Regions from separate parts of the Homo sapiens genome. Here regions 1, 2, 4, 5 and 6 are each linked to region 3. The links are contacts of gene promoters, found by promoter capture Hi-C in blood cells and fetal thymus (Javierre and others, 2016). All regions are on one chromosome and are shown on one strand. Each heading gives the region's core, a stretch centred on a gene start or on the middle of the fragment in contact. The rest is flanking DNA. Distances are from core to core; before and after follow the strand shown. Region 1 overlaps SYNE1 (spectrin repeat containing nuclear envelope protein 1). Region 2 overlaps SYNE1 (spectrin repeat containing nuclear envelope protein 1). Region 3 holds the start of CCDC170 (coiled-coil domain containing 170). Region 4 overlaps SYNE1 (spectrin repeat containing nuclear envelope protein 1). Region 5 overlaps SYNE1 (spectrin repeat containing nuclear envelope protein 1). Region 6 overlaps MTHFD1L (methylenetetrahydrofolate dehydrogenase (NADP+ dependent) 1 like).

Region 1 (3,286 bases), core at 493-2,992, 780 kb after region 3:
ATGTTTTTATTATTTGTAGAGATGGGGTTTTGCTATGATACCCAGGCTGGTCTTGAACTTCTGGGCTCAAGCAATTCTCCCTTCTTAGCCTCCCAAACTGCTAAGATTACAGGCATAAGCCACCAAGCCCTGCCAATGTATTAGTTTAAAAGAAGCTATAAAATTATGGGTTTGGGGTATACTGGCAAAGGTTTTCCCTATCCTAAGATTAAAAAAAAAAAATCATACATTGAGTACCTTGCAGACTTAAGTTTTATATTGAAATCTTTGATCCACCTGTGATACATTTTTCTGTAAAATATGGGGTAGAAAATACAGTTTATCACGTTTCAAGTGATTATTTACAGAGTGAGTCATATTTTGTCCACTGATTTGTAATGCCACCTAAAATATTTATCAAATTCCTTTACATACCAAATCTCTTTCTGGAATAGTTATTGTTTAATTTTCTGTTCACATATTTATTGCGCCAACACCAAACTATTTTAATTATTGTAATATTGTATTTTAATATGTGATTAGACTGGCCGGGCATGGTAGCTCACGCCTATAATCTCAGCACTTTGGGAGGCTGAGGTGGGTGGATTGCCTGTGCTCAGGAGTTGAAGACCAGCCTGGGCAACATTGAGAGACCTCCATCTCTACAAAAAATTAAAAAAATTAGCTAGGCAGGTGGTGCGCGCCTATAGTCCCAGCTACTCAGGAGGCTGAGGTGGGAGCATTACTTGAGACTGGGAGGCAGAGGTTGCAATGAGCTGAGATTGCGTCCCTGCACTCCAGCCTGGGTGACAGAGCAAGACCCTGTCTCAAAAAAAAAAAAACAAAAAAAAATCCACACACATATATGATAAGACTAATAATCCCTCAAAACTCTTCATTTTCAAAATTTTATATGGGATATTACATTATTCCTCTAACTTGTTTTTTGTCTATGTAAAAACTATAAATTCTCGACTTCTTTTTTTTTTTTTTTTTTTTTTGAGACAGGATTTCACTCTGTTGCCCAAGCTAGAGCACAGTGGCACAATCTCGGCTCACTGCAACCTCTGCCTCCCAGGTTCAAGCAGTTCTCATGCCTCAGCCTCCCAAGCAGCTGGGATTACAGGCATGCCCCACCACACCCGGCTAATTTTTGTATTTTTAGTAGAGATGGGGTTTCACCATGTTGGCCAGGCTGGTCTCAAACTCCCGACCTCAGGTGATCCACCTGCCTTGGCCTCCCAAATTGCTGGGGATACAGGCGTGAGCCACTGTGCTCGGCTGACTTCATTTTTTAATTTTTATTTTTTGTTGGATTCTTTTATGCTTTTCAATGACCTAACTTCATATTTTTAATAAGCCAGTCATCTTCCTAAATTTCTCCATTGCTTCTAAATAGTTTTTAGTTGATTAAGTTTGGTTTTCCATATCATATAATCATATCATCAGCAAAAAGCCGAAAAAAAAAATACATAGGTTAGTCCTAACAATCATCCTCACACTGAGAAAACAGAAGCAATCACAGTGAACTTCCATGAAGTTTCCGTTAACAATATTTATGTCCTACTTCCTACCAGTATTTGTATTCCAACATAGATGCTTTCCCTCCCTCCTCATTTTACTTGGAGAACAGATTGGCCTGGTCTCAACCATTATTGCAGGAGAAAGGTGTAAATGGTAAAGGAAGGCACAGTTTGGATTAGGCCACAAGAAGGAGCAGATGATACCATCAGATGCTTATAGGGTTGGGGCAGCTAATGGGCTTCTAAACTATTTGGTCCCTGGCTTACTTAGCAAGAAGGGTAGGGAAGACCAAACTCTGCACTCTTTTTTTTTTTTTTTTTTTTTTTTGAGACGGCGTCTCCCTCTGTCTCCCAGGCTGGAGTGCAGTGGTGCGATCTCAGCTCACTGTAACCTCTGCTTCCCAGGTTCAGGTTCAGGAGATTCTCCTGCCTCAGCTTCCCAAGTAGCTGGGACTACAGGCGCCCACCACTATGCCCGGCTAATTTTTGGTATTTTTATTAGAAACGGGGTTTCACCGTGTTAGCCAGGATGGTCTCCATCTCCTGACTTCATGATCTGCCAGCCTTGGCTTCCCAAAGTGCTGGGATTACAGGTGTGAGCCACCGCACCTGGCCTGTGTACTTTTTATCCTATCCGTTTCCTCCCCAACAAGAAGATTGTTCTTGCAATCACACTCCTTTTTCTTTTTCTTTTTTTTTTTTTTTTTTTTTTTTTTGTTATGAGACAGAGTCTTGCTCTGTCGCCCAGACTGGAGTGCAGTGATATAATCTCGGCTCACTGAAATCTCCACCTCCCAGGTTCAAGCAATTCTCCTGCCTCAGCCTCCCGAGTAACTGAGATTACAGGTGTCCACCACAAGGCCCAGCTAATTTTTTTTTTTTTTTGTATTTTTAGCAGAGATGGGGTTTCACCATGTTAGCCAGTCTGGTCTCGAACTCCTGACCTCAAGTGATCTGCTTGTCTCGGCCTCCCAAAGTGCTGGGATTACAGGCGTGAGCCACGGCGCCCTGCCCACATTCCTTTTTCACCAACTTTTCCTCTATTGAGTTATTTCCATCAACGTGTAAACTTATTATTTTTCTGATCTTAAAATGAAATACTCAAATTGTGATGAATGTAAAAGAAAAAAAGAGATAAAATTTTCTTTGACCCACTTCTCCTTATAGCTTATCTCATTCCTCTATATACCACTTTACAGCAACACTCCTGGAGTAGCCTTTACTTTCCCTCTCCAGTTCCTCTCCTCTCATTGTTACTTTCATGTCAGAGTGCTTTTTGCCTCCACCACTCCGCTGAACAGCTGTTGTTAGTAGTCCTAACAAAATCTATTTGCAAATGTTTGCCAAAGTCCAAGAGTGTAAACTTAAAGCTGCATGCTAAAATGTCAGCGTAAAGCAGGTACACACACAAGTACGCGTCACCGCCAACCTGTTCCTTTACCTGGCAAACCTTAGAAGGAGCACGTGAACAGTGTGCCAACTTTCAGCTGTGGGCCAGCGGCTGGAACCCTCACCTGCATGTTGAGCTGCTTATCATGCAGGGCTCTCTGCAGCTCCAGCAGGCTCCCCTTGAGCCTTCTCAGCTTTCCAGCCAGCTGCTCGGCCTCGTCCTTGGTGTGAGCTTTGCCCTCCAGCAGCAGGTTCTCATTGTGGACTGACAGTTCTGATAAAGCCACCACCTTCTGCTCTATTTCCACCAGCATATTCTGCAGCAACAGAAATAAGAATGAAACTCACACATCTCCCCAGCCTCTGCAAAGACTGTTTCCCACAGTGAAATACAG
Region 2 (3,170 bases), core at 526-3,025, 820 kb after region 3:
GGGTACCTTAGCATTCTTTTTATCTGGTAGCTCCAAAAATTTTACATCACAGCCCTCTAAGTGTTGTGTCAGTCTACCCAGTTAAATCAAATTGCCCTTGGTTACTTTTTAAAGATTATTTTTCCTAAGGTTACCTGATGCAAAATATATTGTTCCCGAAGCTGGCTTGCAGAATTCCATGCAATAGTTCCATGAGCCAAGACTTTAGCTTTTTCAATCCACTTCAAAATTAATTCAAGCATTTCATTGTATTCTTCTAAATGTGATGCTGCCTGAAAAACCAGTAACATTAATGTAACAAATGTAAACTCCTCAGTTTCTTGAGCTATAAATCAGTCTTCTCTCTCTTTGGACACAACAGTCTTAGGGGTTGATCATTATAATACCTATGATATTCAATGGTATCAAAAGATCGTTTCCCTGTTAAAATCTGTCAAAGCTTTCTCAGTGACCTTAGGATAAAGCTCAAGTTCTTAATATGATTGAATTATTCCTCTTTTTCTTTCTTTTTTCTTTTTTCTTTTTTTTTTTTTTCCAAGGTCTTACTGTCACCCCGGCTGGAATGCAGCAGCTGGATCATGGTTAATTACAGCCTCAATCTTACGGGCTCAGCCTCCCACCTCAGCCTCCCACGTAGCTGGGACCACAGGCACGTGCCAACCATGCCCTGTTAAATTTTTGAATCTTTTGTAGGTTTCACCATGTTGCCCAGGCTGGTCTCAAACTCCTAGGCTCAAGTGATCCTTCTGCCTCAGCCTCCCAAAGTACTAGGATTATAGGTATGAGCCACCATGCCAGGCCTTCCTCTATCCCTTCCTTCACCCTCCCCTGGGTAAGGAGGTGGCAAGTGGGGATTCTAGCAGGCAAAGTTTCAAACTATAATTAATGGGTTACCAACTCCTGGTTTTAACTTGTCCCTGATTATATTAATCGATTTCAAAAGTCTAGTCTATATGCAACAATTATTACAGACGTGCAATCTGAATCTATTAAGTCAACGTAAGCTGATATATATGTAGCTTACTTAAAGGTACTTGAATTCACCCCAAACTGATTTCATAAAACACGTTAATGGGTGAATATTCATTCTACAAAATACTTCTCCATTTTACAAAATATTCACTCCAAAGTCCATTTGTAGGACCACCTTTGTCAGTGACTTTATCATATGGCTGGATATAAAGTAAGTGCTGGTTTATACCTAAGTCTTAGGATCACAAGTGTAGCATGAAATAAGCTACACCTAAACTACTCTCTCATTGTCCATTTTATCTTTTTATTTATGTTAATTTATTTTCAAAAGAGAAAAGCAGAACATGGAAGTTTCTGCCTTACACGATTTGGATTTCTGGCCCGGAACACATACCTGATTGAGCTTGGAGAGCCGATTCTCAGCTTGTCTAATGGTCTGCTGGTGAAGTTCAGTCAGTTTTCCTATCTTCTTGGCCAGTGGCTTACCCAGTTGGCCATTCTGTTCCAAGAATTTCTGTACTGCTGCATCTAATTCCATTAACTTTGAATTACAGCCATCTAATTCCTCTCCCAGCACCTTGATGGTCACCAAAATGAAAGAACATTAGAGTACAGAAAATAAATTTCTCCAGGTTTCCCGAGATCAGACTGATTTTTGTCAAAGCCAAATATTATAATGAATAATTCTACTATAATTCTACTATGATCAGGTCATTTTTGTTTCTTCGGTTGGAAAGGCAGGGCAGGATATGTTGTAATGCTGGTGTTTATTTCCTATGAGGCTGAGTGAGAAGGCTAACATTTTCCTTCTGCCCCACCCAAAAAGGATTAGAGTCCCTGAACTCATCAACAGAGGAAGAACACAGATTTAGCTACCAAGGACACAATTCAGTTTGGAATTTATATACTTGTATTCCTAAATCATCACTTAGTCCTTTGACGCTCTTCTTTCGTACACACTCATGCATGTATATTTATTAATACTGTTCAATTATAATGATCAATTATGTAAGAGGATCTGTGTTGCTTCAGTTACAAAATTTCTTTACCACCTGCTGTTACTATTTGGTTTTAAAAAAGGTTCCTAAAAGGTTTTTATCCTATATCCCCAAGTAAAACTGACTCCAAAAACTATTTAATTCATTCAGTAGTACCCTTTAAAATTCTACTTCTTACCTTTTGGTCAGTTTTAGCTTGAACTACATTATCTGTCTTCGCTTTCAGCTTAGTTAGAATAGTTGTGAGGTCTTTAGCTAACTTCTGAATTTGCCGGCTGAGTTCCTGGCTCGTGGCCTTGCTCTGCTCAACTTCTTTTATTTTGTCTTGGATCTAAAAAAATCAGTAAGAACAGCAAAACAAGCCATGGTTAAAAGTGAATAATAGATACTAAAAATCTCAAATGATGTTGACAAGACACATTTTAACTGCTTTGGCATTGAAACACCTGGTCACACCAGCGATGTGCGATTAGTTACAAGCCCTCCTGGCTTTCCCTGACTTCACTATCTTTAAGTATTTACTGCACTCCTTGTGTTCCAGCAAAGATACAAGCAATGTGTGTAGAGAAATTCACTTATTAAATATTTACAGAATACTCATTATAGATGGTTGTGTAGACAGCTGAGTTTGAATCCTATCTTCTCCATTAACTAACGTAATGACCTTGAGCACACAAACTCCTCTAAGCCTTTTTCTTCATAAGATGGAAAATCCTCCCAAACAGTTGGAAGCACACTGATTTGTTTCCAAGCACCTTTTAATAAATGACTCTTAATGATCTGTTAACTCTTTTTGTAACTTTCCGACTACAGCTCTATAGTATGCCAACCAAGCATTAAGTACATCCAATGGAAAGGAAGGTGAAAAAAGACAGTTCGCATTTACAAATTTCCAGTGACTTTGGTTTGATTTGATAACAAACATTCACACTGTTGCTTAGAATAAAATGCCGAAGAAAAGACATTAAAGAGAAGAAACATTTCTTTATGTAGTTAAAGGTCTTTAAAAAAACCTCTTTAGTAGGGAGAAAACACACCATTAAAAGAGAGTTAATGGTGTGTTTTGGCCTTCATTATTTTGAGTGTCAAAGTAAATGAAATACATATGAATAAGGCTATGATAGGAAAATTAATCCAGAGAAAAGCTTAAATTTTAACTAAAAAAACAAACAAACAAACAAAGAAAAACCATGGCTGTGC
Region 3 (3,200 bases), core at 11-2,510:
TCTCAAACTCCTGGCCTCAAGCAATCCTCCCACCTGTTTGATTTCATGTGTCTCAAACAGCATAGGAGTCTACTAAAGGCTTTTTTCTTTTTTTTTTTTTTTTTTTTTGAGGCAGATTCTTGCTCTGTCACCCAGGCTGGAGTGCAGTGGCTCAATCTTGGCTCACTGCAACCTCTGCCTCCCAGGTTCAAATGATTTTCCCTGCCTCAGCCTCTCAAATAGCTGTATTACAGGTGTCCGCTACCACGCCCGGCTAATTTTTGTATTTTTAGTAGAGACAGGGTTTCACCTTCTTGGCCAGGCTGGTCTCAAACTCCTGACCTCAAGTGATCCACCCATCTCAGCCTCCCAAAAGTGTTGGGATTACAGGAGTGAGCCACCGCGCCTGGCCCACCAAAAGCTTTAAAGTGAGGTGAATGCAGATTCCATTTTCAGATTCTGCTACAAATTGTGGGACCTTAAACAAGTTACTCATCTTCTCTGTGCTTTAGTGTTATGATCTGGAGCCTGATCTTCATTCTACCACTTACCCTGTACATCTTGGAAATTTTATTTTATTTCCCTGTGACTGTTGCCTTGTCTTGCAGATGGATTATTCTAACATCCACTTCATAATCTTGTTTCATTTAAGGAGATTGATCATACGTGGGAAGCACTTAGAACAGTGCATGGACGAGCACGAGTATTTCATAATGAGCAGCTGTGGCTGTTACTAACACTGGTATTACTAGTACCCGTACTTCCAGGCAGGGTTGTTGAGAAGGTGAAATGAAAGAACGCACACCAGGGCAGGCTACATAATTTGTGGACCCCGGTACAGAATGAAAATGCAGGACACCTTGTTCAAAACTTCCTAAAAACGTCAAGACTGGGACAGCTGAGTATTAAACCAAGCGCAGGACCCGGACCTGCACAGGTTGCACGCTCGCAGACACATTTGCACACAGTGTGTGCTAAATAAATGCTCCGTTCACCCTTGTGAAGTTTCCTATGCCTCACTCGCGCCAGCACCGTTCACAGTGCCCACTGGCTGTATTTATCGCTGACATAAGGATGAGGCCTGGAATTGCATTCACTGCAGAGTCCCACCGGGAGGACCGACCGTTATCCCCGCCGACTCCCCCCAGGTCGCCCTGGCAGTTTCGGCCGCTCAGTTGCAGGCCCTCGCCACGGAGGCCACGCTCGGGGGTTCGGGGTCCACCCCGGCCTCCTGCGGCCGGGCCACCCTACTCGCGCGCAGCCGCGCGCCGCCGCGTCCCCGCGGTGTTTACCCGTTGCCCGAGGAGACACCCGCGCCACCCGCCGGCTCCCGGCGCCGCCGCTTCCTCAGGGCCGGTTCCGGGTCCGAGCGCGCCCCCGGGCTCGGGTCGTCATGAGCCTGGACTGCACCAGCCATATCGCGCTGGGTGCCGCTTCGCCAGCGCCCGAGGTACGGTCCCAGCCGCCGGCCGCGCGCGGGGGTGGCCCTGGGGATAGACGACCCAGGAGGGGCCGAGGCGCCCCTGATTTGCACCCTTTTCCTCCCGGAGGCGTGGGCAGAATCAGAGCAGCTCTGTGCCCGCGAGGGCTGTGGCCTGGGACTGCCAGGGCGCTGATTTCAGGAGGGGATGGGCAGGACCGGAGTTTGCGGAGCGCGTCTGAATTTTAGGTTGTGCCACTCTGCTTCTCTGACCATTTAAACCGGTGACATTCGAAAGACTGTGGCCGGGCAGTTCCTCCCCGCCACCCCTGGGAGCAAAGAATTCCTTCATTTAACTTTCCCTGCTTAGCTACTGAAGTGTGCTTCGGAGCAATTTCTGGAAAATCTGATGTGGCAGGAGGAGGGCCAGCCCGGAGTAGAGTCACCGGCCCTTTCGTTGCGAAGTAATCCAGAAACGTTGGTAATTCAGTTGTTCCTGAATGCATCTACTCATTTACTCCCAGGAGTTACTTAGGTACTGGGGACTTTCAGGTATTAGATGTACCAATGCGCGCGCGCACACACACACGAACATGCGCGCATACACAGACGCTCGTGCACACACGCGAACAGGCACATACGCGAACAAACACGGGCGCGCACACACACGAACACGGGCATATGCATACTTGGGCGCACAAGAAGATCTGGCTGGCTCAGTCTGGGTTAAGAATCCCCCTTTGGCCTTGGCATCGGGGCCCACCGGGTATCGTGTGTATTGGGAGTAGTTGCCAGAGATGGGGGAATTGTGTTCAGCTCAACTGCTAACCGCAAGTAACTCACCCAATTAGTAAATGATGGAGGATTTTTCTTTCTTTCCAAAGTTTTGGACTTTTCCTACCACGCTGTGTACTGACCATAGATATCCCTGGGGGATGTAGTGGATTCAAAACATGAGTTGGATTCTCCAACGTGCCATCGGAATTCTTCTAATATTCAGCAGCTTTGATTGTTGTTTTACATCTGACCTGTATTTAGATTTCTCTGATTCCTGGAATATTTGTGGAAAATAAGTACCACTGTGTGCAAATAAAACTATTTTTTCTTTCTTTCTAACTCAGAGGCCAGTTACTAGATGTTTTTTCTTTCATCTGACATTTTCATATTTGACTTTATTAATTTTTATCCCAATGTGGTGTCTTAACCATACATAAGTATGTGGTATTTTTATATTATTAATATATATTTTTTTTGGTGAGCCCATTGAGAGTAAATTACAGCCATCATGATTCTTTCTTTCTCTCTCCTTTTTTTCTCTTGTTCTCTCCCTCCCTCCTTTTCTTTCTTTCTTCTTTTTTTCAGACAGGGTCTCACCTTGTTACCCAGGCTCGAGTGCAGTGGCACGATCTCGGCTCGCCGCCGCCTTGACACCCCTGGGTTCAAACGATCCTCTCACCTCAGCCTCCAGAGTAGCTGGGACTCCAGGCATGCCATGATGCCTGGATAATTTTTGTGTTCTTTGCAGAGGCAGAGTTTTATCGTGTTGCTCAGGCTGGTCTCAAACTCCTGAGCTCAAGCGATCCACCTGCCTCAGACTCCCAAAGTGCTGGGATTACAGAGATGCACTACCATGCCTGGTCCCCTATGACCTTTCATCTGTAAATACTCTGGTGTGTTATCTCCTATGAATAAGGGCATTCTCTAACGAACATACAATGATCAAAATCGGGATGTTTAGCATTGTGACAATAATATTATCTAATATACACGACCTACTAAAACTTTGCCACTTGTCCCAATT
Region 4 (3,541 bases), core at 670-3,169, 810 kb after region 3:
ATAAATTCTATTATTTTATATACATGTAAAGTAATACTATTACTGTCCATAAGGAAAAGCAGGAATGCCTTTAAATGGTGTAAACATTTTACATTAGATACTCTATTATAAATACAGAAGGCTCCCAAAAGAGCTAGAATAAAATAAATTTATTACAAATAATTTTTTTCTGGCAGTCTCACTCTGTGTGTGTGTGTGTGTGTGTGTGTGTGTGTGTGTGTGTGTGCGCGCGCACGTGGCTCATGCCTACAGATATGAATGACAACTCCTGGTTTCTTAAAAGGATTTGAAAATATGTCACCTTTTATAGATGAATAATTTCTATTTATTTGAGGTACATACATAAATTGAATTAAAATAAATCACTCAGTACTATAAATAACTACTAAAGTCAATACTTGATGTAGTGAGGAGTCACTGTTACAAATACGTTTCTCATTGCTTATGTGCCTAAGTTATAAGACTTATGAGTAGATTCCTAAGGAAATAAATTTGGACAACTGTAGCTACTATTTGATCAGTATTTTCTAGTTTAAAAAGCACTTTCACGATTCATGTCACATTTCATTTTCACAATGCTGTGAATTAAGTAGTATTGCTTCTCACTTACAAATGAGGGTATCAAGGGACTTCCCAGGTGCACTCAGCTTAGAGGAGAAAGAGCTGCAACTCAGTGTGAGCTTTTAACTTGAAGGCCAATGATTTTCCCATTACACTCTTGCTCCCTCTTTTCAAATGTATTCCTCCCTCAACTCTTCTGCAGAGTCTAAGCCTTGGCTTGCTTCTAAGGGGAATCAAGAAGCCTACAGCAAAATCTAGGAATGCCTCGGTATTTCTACCTTCAAGTAAGCTAAACTGTTATTACATTTTAGCTAATAGCTACTGTCAGAGACAGAATACACTGTGAGTGGGACCAGGTAGTTATATAACGGAGATCTACTTGCAGGAACAGCAGGCACAAAACCTTTTTTTTTTTTAACAACTGTGATTTTATAAAGCAGTTCTATTTGGCTGCTCCCTGAAACAGCTGTACACATTCTGTGCACAAAACTCAGGGTTTTTAATCTGAAAACTGAAACTTAAGGGGATCCTACATGTCCTCCTCAGTTTCAAGAGACAATTTTATAAATCCAGTGCATCACCGGTCATGGTGTCATATTTTTTCATTGTCTTCTAACTGACATTACTATACAAAAATAACATGTGGCCGTAATGATGGGGTTGATTTGTTTGATGAACACCAAGCATAATACATTTCCTTTTTAACAGCTCCCTCAGAGTAAAGCTGTGTGTCTTAATCTAAGTAAAGGCATTTTCCCCTACTTTGCAGCATCACATGTAAGTATTTTAGATTAACAATGCAATTTAATTGATGTTTTCCTGTGACTAGGGGAGAGGGGAAGAATTAAAACAAAGCCTAATCTCACTGAGTTTTAGGACCTGATGAAGCTTTGTGGTTAATGTCAAGAAATAATAATAGAAATATTTGCATGTTTCATCATTTTTAGGGCACTTTCATGTATCCTTTGACACTTTACAAGAAGTAGCATGGAGATTTACAGTTTTAGAAAAGGTATATTTTTTCCACAAAGTCTCAAATAAGTATTTATTATTCAGTTTGAAAAATTTGAGAACCTAAACCATATTAAATAGAACAATTTTTTCTATATAATAATCAGCCGACTATAGCTTAATTTCTGTAATAACATCTGTAACCATAGGGAAGGACAAATCATCAAAGAATGAGTAATACATATTTTAAAATGAGAATTTGAAAAACACTTTCCCAAATTCCCCACGGCTCCCTGAACTTCTCCTTTTATGTTGCTGTTTTTAGTTTCCTCTGATCACATTGTTATTATCTGTCCCATGTCTGCCTTTCTCTCTAGACTGTCAGGGCCTTGCAGGTAGGGCCATGCTGACTCCTTCTCAGCTGCATCCTCAGGAACCAACACAAGGTTTCACGCTGAGCAGGTGTCAGAATGTACTTGACAAATGGATGAGTTGATAATTTCCCTAGAGCTATCCTGATTTTTACCAAGAGAACAGTGTAAGTGTATTAACTAAAGGTTTCATCACCTTGATGTTCCTTTTTTTTTTTAATGAGGGGGGATTCTCTTTATCACAGAAATCCTATGACAGTCTGAATGCTTCTGCTTTAAAATAAAAGTAATATAATTGAATTATAATACAGGTTATAAAACATTTGCTCTGTTTAATGCTTCTCCCTTAATAATACATATCAACTTCTTTGAAAAAATGTAATTTCATAGAATAGTTTACATTTTTTAGTTGTCTTCACTAAAAAATAAAGTATTACTTAACATGCATTAAAAGTCTTTGGTTACTATAAAGGCATATTTTTGATTTCTATCTAACATTTGACATAAAAGCTTTTTGACATTTAATTTAGTATTATCTACATTTAATACATGGTAAAAGGCTTCTTATAACTAAATGGTTATTTTATTTTCCCCATTTTATAGAAAATAAAATTTAAGATTATTGAAAGATAAGTTAAACACTCAAATCTAGTAGGCATTCTAGTATAAATATGGCAGACATTCCTTACATTGGTACACAAGTTGCAAATAAAGAAGAAGTCTGACATAATAAATGGAAGTTTCCTGTCTTCAAAATCTGAGCTGGTAAATGCCAGCACTATTTTCAATGCATGTTATAAAGCCATCGAATCACGTTATTTTACAATGGTGACACACATCTTTTATTTTCTGTTGGATGCAGAACCCCATTCCAGATGATTGCTGGAAACTAAGGCCATAATGTCTTAAAACAGAGCCTTCTGGGCTATCATTCCCATGACCTAATTTTTGTTCATCCCACTTTCTGTAGCCCAGGAGAGGAGATGACATACTGAGACACATGACAATCATAGTTTGTGCAACTATAACACCTAATAGTGTGTCCCTGGAACCAAATGCAACAAAGTCTGAGATTCATACCCACGATCTAATGGAAACAGAGAATGGAGTCCTGCATCTGCCCAGAGATTATTGCTAGAGGAATGCCAACTGGGAGGTACCTGGTTAACAGAAGCATCTGTATTAGCCACAGGTGAAGGGGAGCGACAGGCAGGTGGAGAGGAAATCTCACTGTTGGTTCCCTCCTCCCCAGACTCCTCAGTGACCGGTGACAGCAAAGTGTGACAGCGACCTGCAGTCATCTGCCACGTAAAATGTAGCCCAAAGGACATGAAAATCAATTAGCTATGTTAACATAAGTCCTGTTCAGGCACAGGCCAAAACAGAGTTAATTATAAAACGAAGGTTAAAATTACTGGGACCCGAATTCACATATTAATCCTGTGTTAGTATTTAAAAGTTCTGTCTTCAAGAGAATATGATGCTAGTAATCATTTGTAAAACAATCAGGGATGGGGGTGCATATGACATTGAAGTTTTGTTGTTGATTAAATACTTCATTATTTTCCTTTCTTTGGAGAGTTTGTGGCTTTATAAATAACTGGAAAAATCACGAATCATACAAATGAGAAAAGGTCTGTGAAATAAAGCTTGGTCTT
Region 5 (3,362 bases), core at 508-3,007, 630 kb after region 3:
CCAGAAGAAAGCACTATGTTTGTAGCTCACCTATTACCTATTAATTTCTGAAGACAGACTACCCTAATATCGGTGGGGGATGCGGAGTGACACCTAAGAAAATAAATGTTAAAAACAGATAGAATCCCCTTAGAAGGGAACAGAGGGAGTATTCAAAACTCTTTTATTAAACCATCAAAGAAAAATGGGAGAGGGCTGGGCACAGTGGCTCCCGCCTGTAATCCCAGCGCTTTGGGAGGCTGAGGTTGGCGGATCACTTGAGGCCAGGAGTTCAAGCCAGCCTGGCCAACATGGTAAAAATACAAAAATTAGTCAGGCCTGGTGGCGTGTGCCTGTAGTCCCAGTCACTTGGGAGGCTGAGGCAGGAGAATCGCTTGAACCCGGGAGGCGGAGGCTGCAGTGAGCCATGATCGGAACACCACTGCACTCCATCCTGGGCAACAGAGCGAGACTCTATCTCAAAAACAGATATTGGTTCTGCAGAAACCCCAAGAAACAGGCAGCACGCAGTGTTTCTATACACTTCTTGTGGTGTAAGGAAAAATCAAATCACTGGTTTAAATTGGAAGCATGTTCTTTTCTGAAATCCACACAAGTAACGGCAGGGTAATGTAACCTTGAACAACTCACTTCATCTCTAGGTGTCAACCTCTTCACTAACCTCTTCAAATTAGCATAGATGGTCTTCTAACTTTAAAGTTTACTGTTCGATGTTTTTGTCTTCTACTGATTTGTCAGTATAAATAATCTCCCAAGAAGCCACAAGAGCTCAATCACCATCTAGTGGTCAAACTGATTAACTGCCCTTGTGCTAAGACCAATGAGTTATTCCTAATAAGCTGAGGGAAAAAAAAAGTATATTTTGTGAAAATATAGTAGAACATAAAAGAAGTATGTCATATACCTTATTAATGGAAAAGGAAAATAGAAACTTCTTGAGTTACCTGAGCATAAAATATTCATGTTGAGACAGGGCCTTAGAGAGCATCCAGTTCATCTCCTAATTTTGTAGGGGAGTAGCTAAGGACAGTTCATGTTTACTCTTCTAATTGCTAGGCAGCACTCTGAGCATTTATGTTGGGTTCTGTCATTTAATCCCCACAGCAGTCCTCTGCGGTGTGTACTTATTAACTTCATTTTACAGATGATGTGAAAGAAAGCTCAGGGAAGTGAAATAACTGGCTCAAGCTCACACAGCCAGTGGCAGAAGATTTCAACCCTGTGATTTTAACTACCAGAACCTGGAGACTCTAGACAGGCTGAATGACTTGCTTCAGATTCTACAGTTAAAGGAAGAGGCCTAGCAGGGACTCAGGCTTCCAAAATCCCTGCCCACCGCACTCTCTGCTGTGAAATGTTTTGCTGGTTGGTGATAGGAATAATGGTAATGGTAATTCAGGTCGTATTCATTTCACAGGTATCTCACATGTAGAAGCAAAGAAGAGAATCCTGAACTTGCATCCTAAAATATTTGGAAACAAGTGGTTTCCTCGTGTCTAAAGCCTCTGGTCATAAGGCCTCACAGTATCCTGCAGATCATCAAATCCGTGTGTGGACGTGGGGACATTTTGTTTTGAGGCAGTTACATGACCATGGGCAAGTAAATTAGTCTCTCTGGCCTTCAGTTTTCTCATTTGCAATGATTCAATGGTTTGCCTTAAAGTGTCTTAAGAAGGATAGGATAGCTACCCACAAACTTTGGATCAAATTTTCTTCAAAACATCCTTCCCCTGACTTTAAAATATGCCCTGGCAACCAACACTCAACACCTGTAGCTAGATGAGTTATAACAGAGTGACTGAAGAGAGCTCCCACAATTCCTAGTTATTAAATACCTGACTAATTTTCATTAGGAGACATTTAAGAACTTTAGTGATGGGAAGATTTACATATATAATTGATAGTACAATCTGACAGAGCTGAATAGCTCCTGTTTGTCAACTGTTAAATTCTTTGTGCAATTAGGTCAAAGATCAAGATCAAAACAAGGGCTGCCCATTGACCTGTTCACTCCTGAGAAAAATGGCAAACCATTGAATCATAAATCATGACAGCCAAAATAATTTTAGGATATTAATGCACCCCTCATCTTTGCAAATGAGAAAACTGAAGGCCAGAGAGACTAATTTACTTGCCCATTTTTGATAAAAATGTCACCATTTACAGAATGTGGACTCCTATGTTGGAGTCTGTTGAAGGACATGGCACATTTAACAGCATCAGAGCATTTTTTATTAAAATTTAATTTGTGCATGACTTCTAATGCTGAAGAACGCCAAGCTAGGAAGAAGTCATGGGCTGAGATGGGGACAGAGAGAACACACAATATTCAGTGACTGTCCGTGCAGCTGGCTGCCCTTGAAAATATCCGAACTATCCACTGGGAAAATGCCTGTCCCCTTGGGGTAATTACCAGAGTTTCAACATGCCCAAAGCTGCCTCATCTTCAGGGGGAACTTGTTCTAGCGATTTTAGTATCAAGAAGCTAATGGTCCCAGGGAAAGGGTTATTTTTAATATTTAGCTACTGTGCTAAAAATCACCTAAGTTTCTAGAGTCTTGGGAAATTTCATAAGGGAAAGAACAAAGGCAACTTGTTGACTACCCACTGGTCATTCTCCTCTGGTCTTATTACATACATGGATGCCAGTTTAGATTGTGTTTATATAGGAAAAATTAAATGTGTGAGCCTCCTTAAGGAACATCATCAATACAGATATATCAGATAGTTCTGTCCAGCAAAAAACGTGCTTATTTGCTACAAGTAAATTTTTATTTATTTTTCTCACTTCCCTCACTCCTTCAAATTTCCAGGTAAATAGCTGCCCAGGAGTTGCTTCATCTCTGTCCCAAAATACCTAGACAATTGCGGGATAAGGAGAATGGCAGGGAGGGAGTAGTGGCTAAAATCACACCCTTCAAAAGAAAGTGTGTAGGACACACAATTGTGAGAAGTCTGAATGCCATGCACATAGGGTATGACTCACTTTGAAAATTGTTTATAATCAAGGAAATGAAAATGAGTTAATTTCGTGCATGCATCATTTAAAGCCAAATGAGAAGAAACTTCTAATTTATTTTGTTACTTTTCGGCTAACACTGGCAGTATGTAACAGATTTATTTTGCAGAAACATCTAGATTGTCCGTGATCTTGATCCTGCCCTTATGTGTCTTGTCTTTGAAACCCAGTGTTTCCTGGATATATGGTTCAGGAGACAAGTTTCCAGAATCAAGTTAGGACCCAGGTCTTCTTTTTTTCCAAACCAAACATTCTTGCTAATCCTAAACTACCTGAGGCAGCCTGTGGTGGCCTCAGCTCTAAAACCATTGTTTAAAGGCTTCTACCCATCAATGGCCCTTCA
Region 6 (3,494 bases), core at 695-3,194, 590 kb before region 3:
ATGTTTTTCCTAAAGTATAGGGAAGATTATTATTATTATTATTATTTTCTTTTTCAGACGGAGTCTCGTTCTGTCACCAGGCTGGAGTGCAGGCGCGTGATCTAGGCTCACTGCAAGCTCTGCCTCCCAGGTTGAAGTGATTCTCCTGTGAAAGGGAATTATTTTTGATGAGTCATTAAAGTATATCCATTCCCAGAATGGTGCTGCATTTTTCCTTTTATCATCTGTCATGACTTTTTTAAGTGTGAAGCTTACTTCCAGAGGAATTGTCTTTTCTAGCATTTTGGACACAACTAAATATCTTTGATATTTTCTTCTCATATGTTGAGCAGTAAATTAAGTTGAATGGTGAAGTCAGAGGTGAACTTAGGAACATTTAGAAAAAGGAAGGTCATTTATTATTTTTCAGGGGAAAAGTTTGGTAGAAAAATGCTGTAATCCTAATTCCCAGATGTCCATTTGGCTTGTAGTCATTTTGATTTATGAAATAATCATAAGAAATGTCTTCAAATTTTAAAAGCCAATAATTTGTTCTACTAATCACAGATGAGAGTAGAAATAAAAGAAACACACCCAATTCCTGAAAGGAAAAAAATTCTCCCAGGATGAGATCACTGGGTGGACGTGAAGTGGGTAAAATACCTTTTGCTGCAATTGTCATCCCCTTATCTTGCCAAAGTACGACAACATCTGAATGAAGATGGTTTGATGTTCTTAGTTTAGAGTAGTTATACTATTATTTTAACATTCCTATTTAATGATATGTTTTAATACTGCAGGGGAAAGGTAGATACAGATTCATAGCTACAAAGCAATACTCTTATGATCAATGTTCATTTAATTTCAAATACAAAGTTAGACATTCAGAGTTAAAAAAAATTAATGCATAGGCTGGGTGCAGTGGCTCACGCCTGTAATCCCAGCACTTTGGGAGGCCGAGGCAGGCGGATCATGAGGTCAGGAGTGTGAGACCAGCCTGACCAACATGGGGAAACTCCATCTCTACTAAAAATACAAAAATTAGCTGGGTGTGGTGGCATGCGCCTGTAATCCTAGCTACTCAGGAGGCTGAGACAGGAGAATCGTTGAACCCAGGAGGCAGAGGTTGCAGCGAGCTGAGATTGCACCACTGCACTCCAGCCTGGGCCACAGAGTGAGATTCCATCTCAAAAAAAAATAGATATATATATATTTTTTATATTATATTATATATTATATATTTATATTTTTATATATATAAATGAATAAACAAGGCATCTGCTTATGAAACAGTCTGCCTGAATGAAATCTCCATTTGCAGGCAACACAGTCTACAGTAATGGCAGGACTGTATTAGGCATGGTTCCTAATGCCCATTTCTGTAGCAAAGTCACCAGTAGTTCCTAATTGCCAAAAGTGAGTCACCGGTAGTTCCTAATTGCCAAAAGTGTATTTTTTGCTTTTATCTTGCTTGACCACAGCTGTCATATAAACCTGTTGGCCACACCCTTTTCCCTTAGCCTGAATGAAAATGCCCCTTCCTGCCCTTCGTAGCTCCTGAGCCACCAGGACATGGTGGTCTCCATCATCTGTTCGTTATCTCTAACCATTTAAGATTAGTGCTCCCCAAGGATGTCTGTTAACCTGCTTTCCTTCCCATTCTGCCAGTTTCCCCTGGGGAATCCACACTTCTGGTTTTAACCATCACCTAAATGCTGTGTGTCCCGACCCGCATCCGCATGCTCCCAGGCCATTCTCAGTTCCAGACCCGGGCCCCCAGCTTCCTGCAGACGCCTCCTCCAGGAGATCTCAGTATCTTGCTTTTCCTCCTACCCCTTCTAAGGCATTCTCAATCCAGCTTCCAGAGGAATCTTCCTAAAACACATCTGACTGTGTGAGCCACATACTGTAGCCCAACCTGACAGCTTCTTTTCTATATTAAGAAAAAGTGCGGCCGGGCGCGGTGGCTCACGCCTGTAATCCCAGCTCTTTGGGAGGCTGAGGCGGGCAGATCACGAGGTCAGGAGATCGAGACCATCCTGGATAACATGGTGAAACCCTGTCTCTACTGAAAATACAAAAAATTAGCCGGGCATGGTGGCAGGTGCCTGTAGTCCCAGCTACTCGGGAGGCTGAGGCAGGAGAATGGCATGAACCCAGGAGGCGGAGCTTGCAGTGAGCCGGGATCGCGCCACTGCACTCCAGCCTGGACGACAGAGTGAGACTCGTCTCAAAAAAAAAAAAGAAAAGAAAAGAAAAAGTGCACACATTTTGACATCTGAGAAAAGTGATGTTTTTCTTAGAAAAGTGACATCTAACTCTTTATAGAAACTTTGCCACAAGGTAGTCTAGGAGTCCCCTTACTACCTAAGATTTTCATGGACATGCCCTGTCTGATCATAAAGCATGTGGCACAGTGGCTCACGCCTGTAATCCCAACACTTTGGAAGGCCCAGGCGGGCAGATCACTTGAGCCCAGGAATTCAAGACCAGCCTGGGCAACATGGTGAAACCCTGTCTCTACAAAAAATATTTAAAAAACAAAATGAACTGAGCATGGTGAAGCACATCTATAGTCCCAGCTACTTAGAGGCTGAGGTAGGAGGATCGCTTAAGCCCAGAAGTCAGGGCTGCAGTGAGCTGAGACTGCAGTGCCACTGCATTCCAGCCTAGAGGACAGAGTGAGACCCCGTCTCCAAAAATAAATAAATTAATTAAATAAAGCCTTGTGAAGAATCTGCCGTGGAGCATAATGTAACCCATAAAGCCACTTAACTGGGCGCACATAAACTACATAAACTACAGTGTGTCCCAGTTCATTGAGAGTGAAAATCAAGCAAGGGACCACCTCAGTGTGGTAGAGCCCCCTCCCTGCCCTCCAGACCCTGCTCTGTTCTCTGTGTCTGACCATTGACTGGCCATCACTCAGGCACTAGTTGAGAATGCCAATGTCTTTAGTTATTGTAATTTCAGAAGCACATCCTTGCTGGACAAAGAACCTACCTGTTAATTTTTTAAAGTAATGTTCATCATTTTGAACATTGTTTTCTTTCTTTTTTATTCAGCTGACCCTCATGAGGAATTTAACTTGGTTTTCTGAACTGTGTTGGTAACATTTGAAGGACATAGAAACAGTTTTCATAGGTCTCAAGTGATATAAACCACAATTCTTTAGAAAATATCTTTTTTTTTTTACCCATTCTGGATTTTGAAATATATACAGATCTCATACCTCAGATTCTCATATGATATGAACTGTTTCAAAACACATTGATAGCAGAAGATACATACTGTCTTCTAGTCAAGAGGGTAGCGCTGTATTTAGTTTAAAACATTTTAATGCATTTTATTTGCTAAATACAAAATTATAATATTCTGTATAACTTTCCAAATCTCATCTGTCCTCCCTTTCCCCCATCTCTTTATATTCAGATGCTTGTCCCTCCAGCTTAAAAATTCATGACTTTGAGAAAATTCGTCTTCATGTTATCTAAACTACTGCACCCCCACACGCT

The links. The method cuts DNA at HindIII sites, captures the fragments that hold promoters and counts their contacts. A CHiCAGO score of 5 or more calls a contact.
Region 1: a fragment that was not itself captured here is called in contact with the fragment with the promoter of CCDC170 in region 3 in 1 of 17 cell types (erythroblasts); the score reaches 7.9 in erythroblasts.
Region 2: a contact is called between a fragment that was not itself captured here and the fragment with the promoter of CCDC170 in region 3, in 1 of 17 cell types (M0 macrophages). The highest score is 5.0, in M0 macrophages.
Region 4: a contact is called between a fragment that was not itself captured here and the fragment with the promoter of CCDC170 in region 3, in 3 of 17 cell types (M0 macrophages, monocytes and M1 macrophages). The highest score is 5.7, in M0 macrophages.
Region 5: a fragment that was not itself captured here is called in contact with the fragment with the promoter of CCDC170 in region 3 in 1 of 17 cell types (M0 macrophages); the score reaches 6.6 in M0 macrophages.
Region 6: a contact is called between a fragment that was not itself captured here and the fragment with the promoter of CCDC170 in region 3, in 1 of 17 cell types (total CD8 T cells). The highest score is 5.3, in total CD8 T cells.

What each region holds. Positions count from the first base shown.
Region 1 is chr6:152,275,073-152,278,358 of GRCh38, forward strand. It overlaps SYNE1 (spectrin repeat containing nuclear envelope protein 1), which reads right to left. Exons shown (of 146, transcript NM_182961.4): 98 at 3,017-3,208. Among named protein-coding and RNA genes, the nearest start is that of SYNE1-AS1, 100 kb to the right of the region's middle. The HindIII fragment of the contact is 7,041 bases long and covers 1-3,286 here.
Region 2 is chr6:152,316,715-152,319,884 of GRCh38, forward strand. SYNE1 (spectrin repeat containing nuclear envelope protein 1) reads right to left here. Exons shown (of 146, transcript NM_182961.4): 85 at 2,149-2,301; 86 at 1,367-1,549; 87 at 135-272. Among named protein-coding and RNA genes, the nearest start is that of SYNE1-AS1, 62 kb to the right of the region's middle. The HindIII fragment of the contact is 2,676 bases long and covers 438-3,113 here.
Region 3 is chr6:151,492,757-151,495,956 of GRCh38, forward strand. CCDC170 (coiled-coil domain containing 170) reads left to right here and starts at 1,261. Exons shown (of 11, transcript NM_025059.4): 1 at 1,261-1,429. The coding sequence starts at 1,373. The HindIII fragment of the contact is 3,463 bases long and covers 399-3,200 here.
Region 4 is chr6:152,297,598-152,301,138 of GRCh38, forward strand. SYNE1 (spectrin repeat containing nuclear envelope protein 1) reads right to left here. Exons shown (of 146, transcript NM_182961.4): 93 at 3,044-3,184. Among named protein-coding and RNA genes, the nearest start is that of SYNE1-AS1, 81 kb to the right of the region's middle. The HindIII fragment of the contact is 944 bases long and covers 1,448-2,391 here.
Region 5 is chr6:152,123,849-152,127,210 of GRCh38, forward strand. All of the region lies in intron 145 of SYNE1 (spectrin repeat containing nuclear envelope protein 1), which reads right to left. It also overlaps a transcript of ESR1 not described here. Among named protein-coding and RNA genes, the nearest start is that of SYNE1-AS1, 260 kb to the right of the region's middle. The HindIII fragment of the contact is 4,815 bases long and covers 1-3,362 here.
Region 6 is chr6:150,898,803-150,902,296 of GRCh38, forward strand. All of the region lies in intron 7 of MTHFD1L (methylenetetrahydrofolate dehydrogenase (NADP+ dependent) 1 like), which reads left to right. Among named protein-coding and RNA genes, the nearest start is that of MTHFD1L, 35 kb to the left of the region's middle. The HindIII fragment of the contact is 3,392 bases long and covers 249-3,494 here.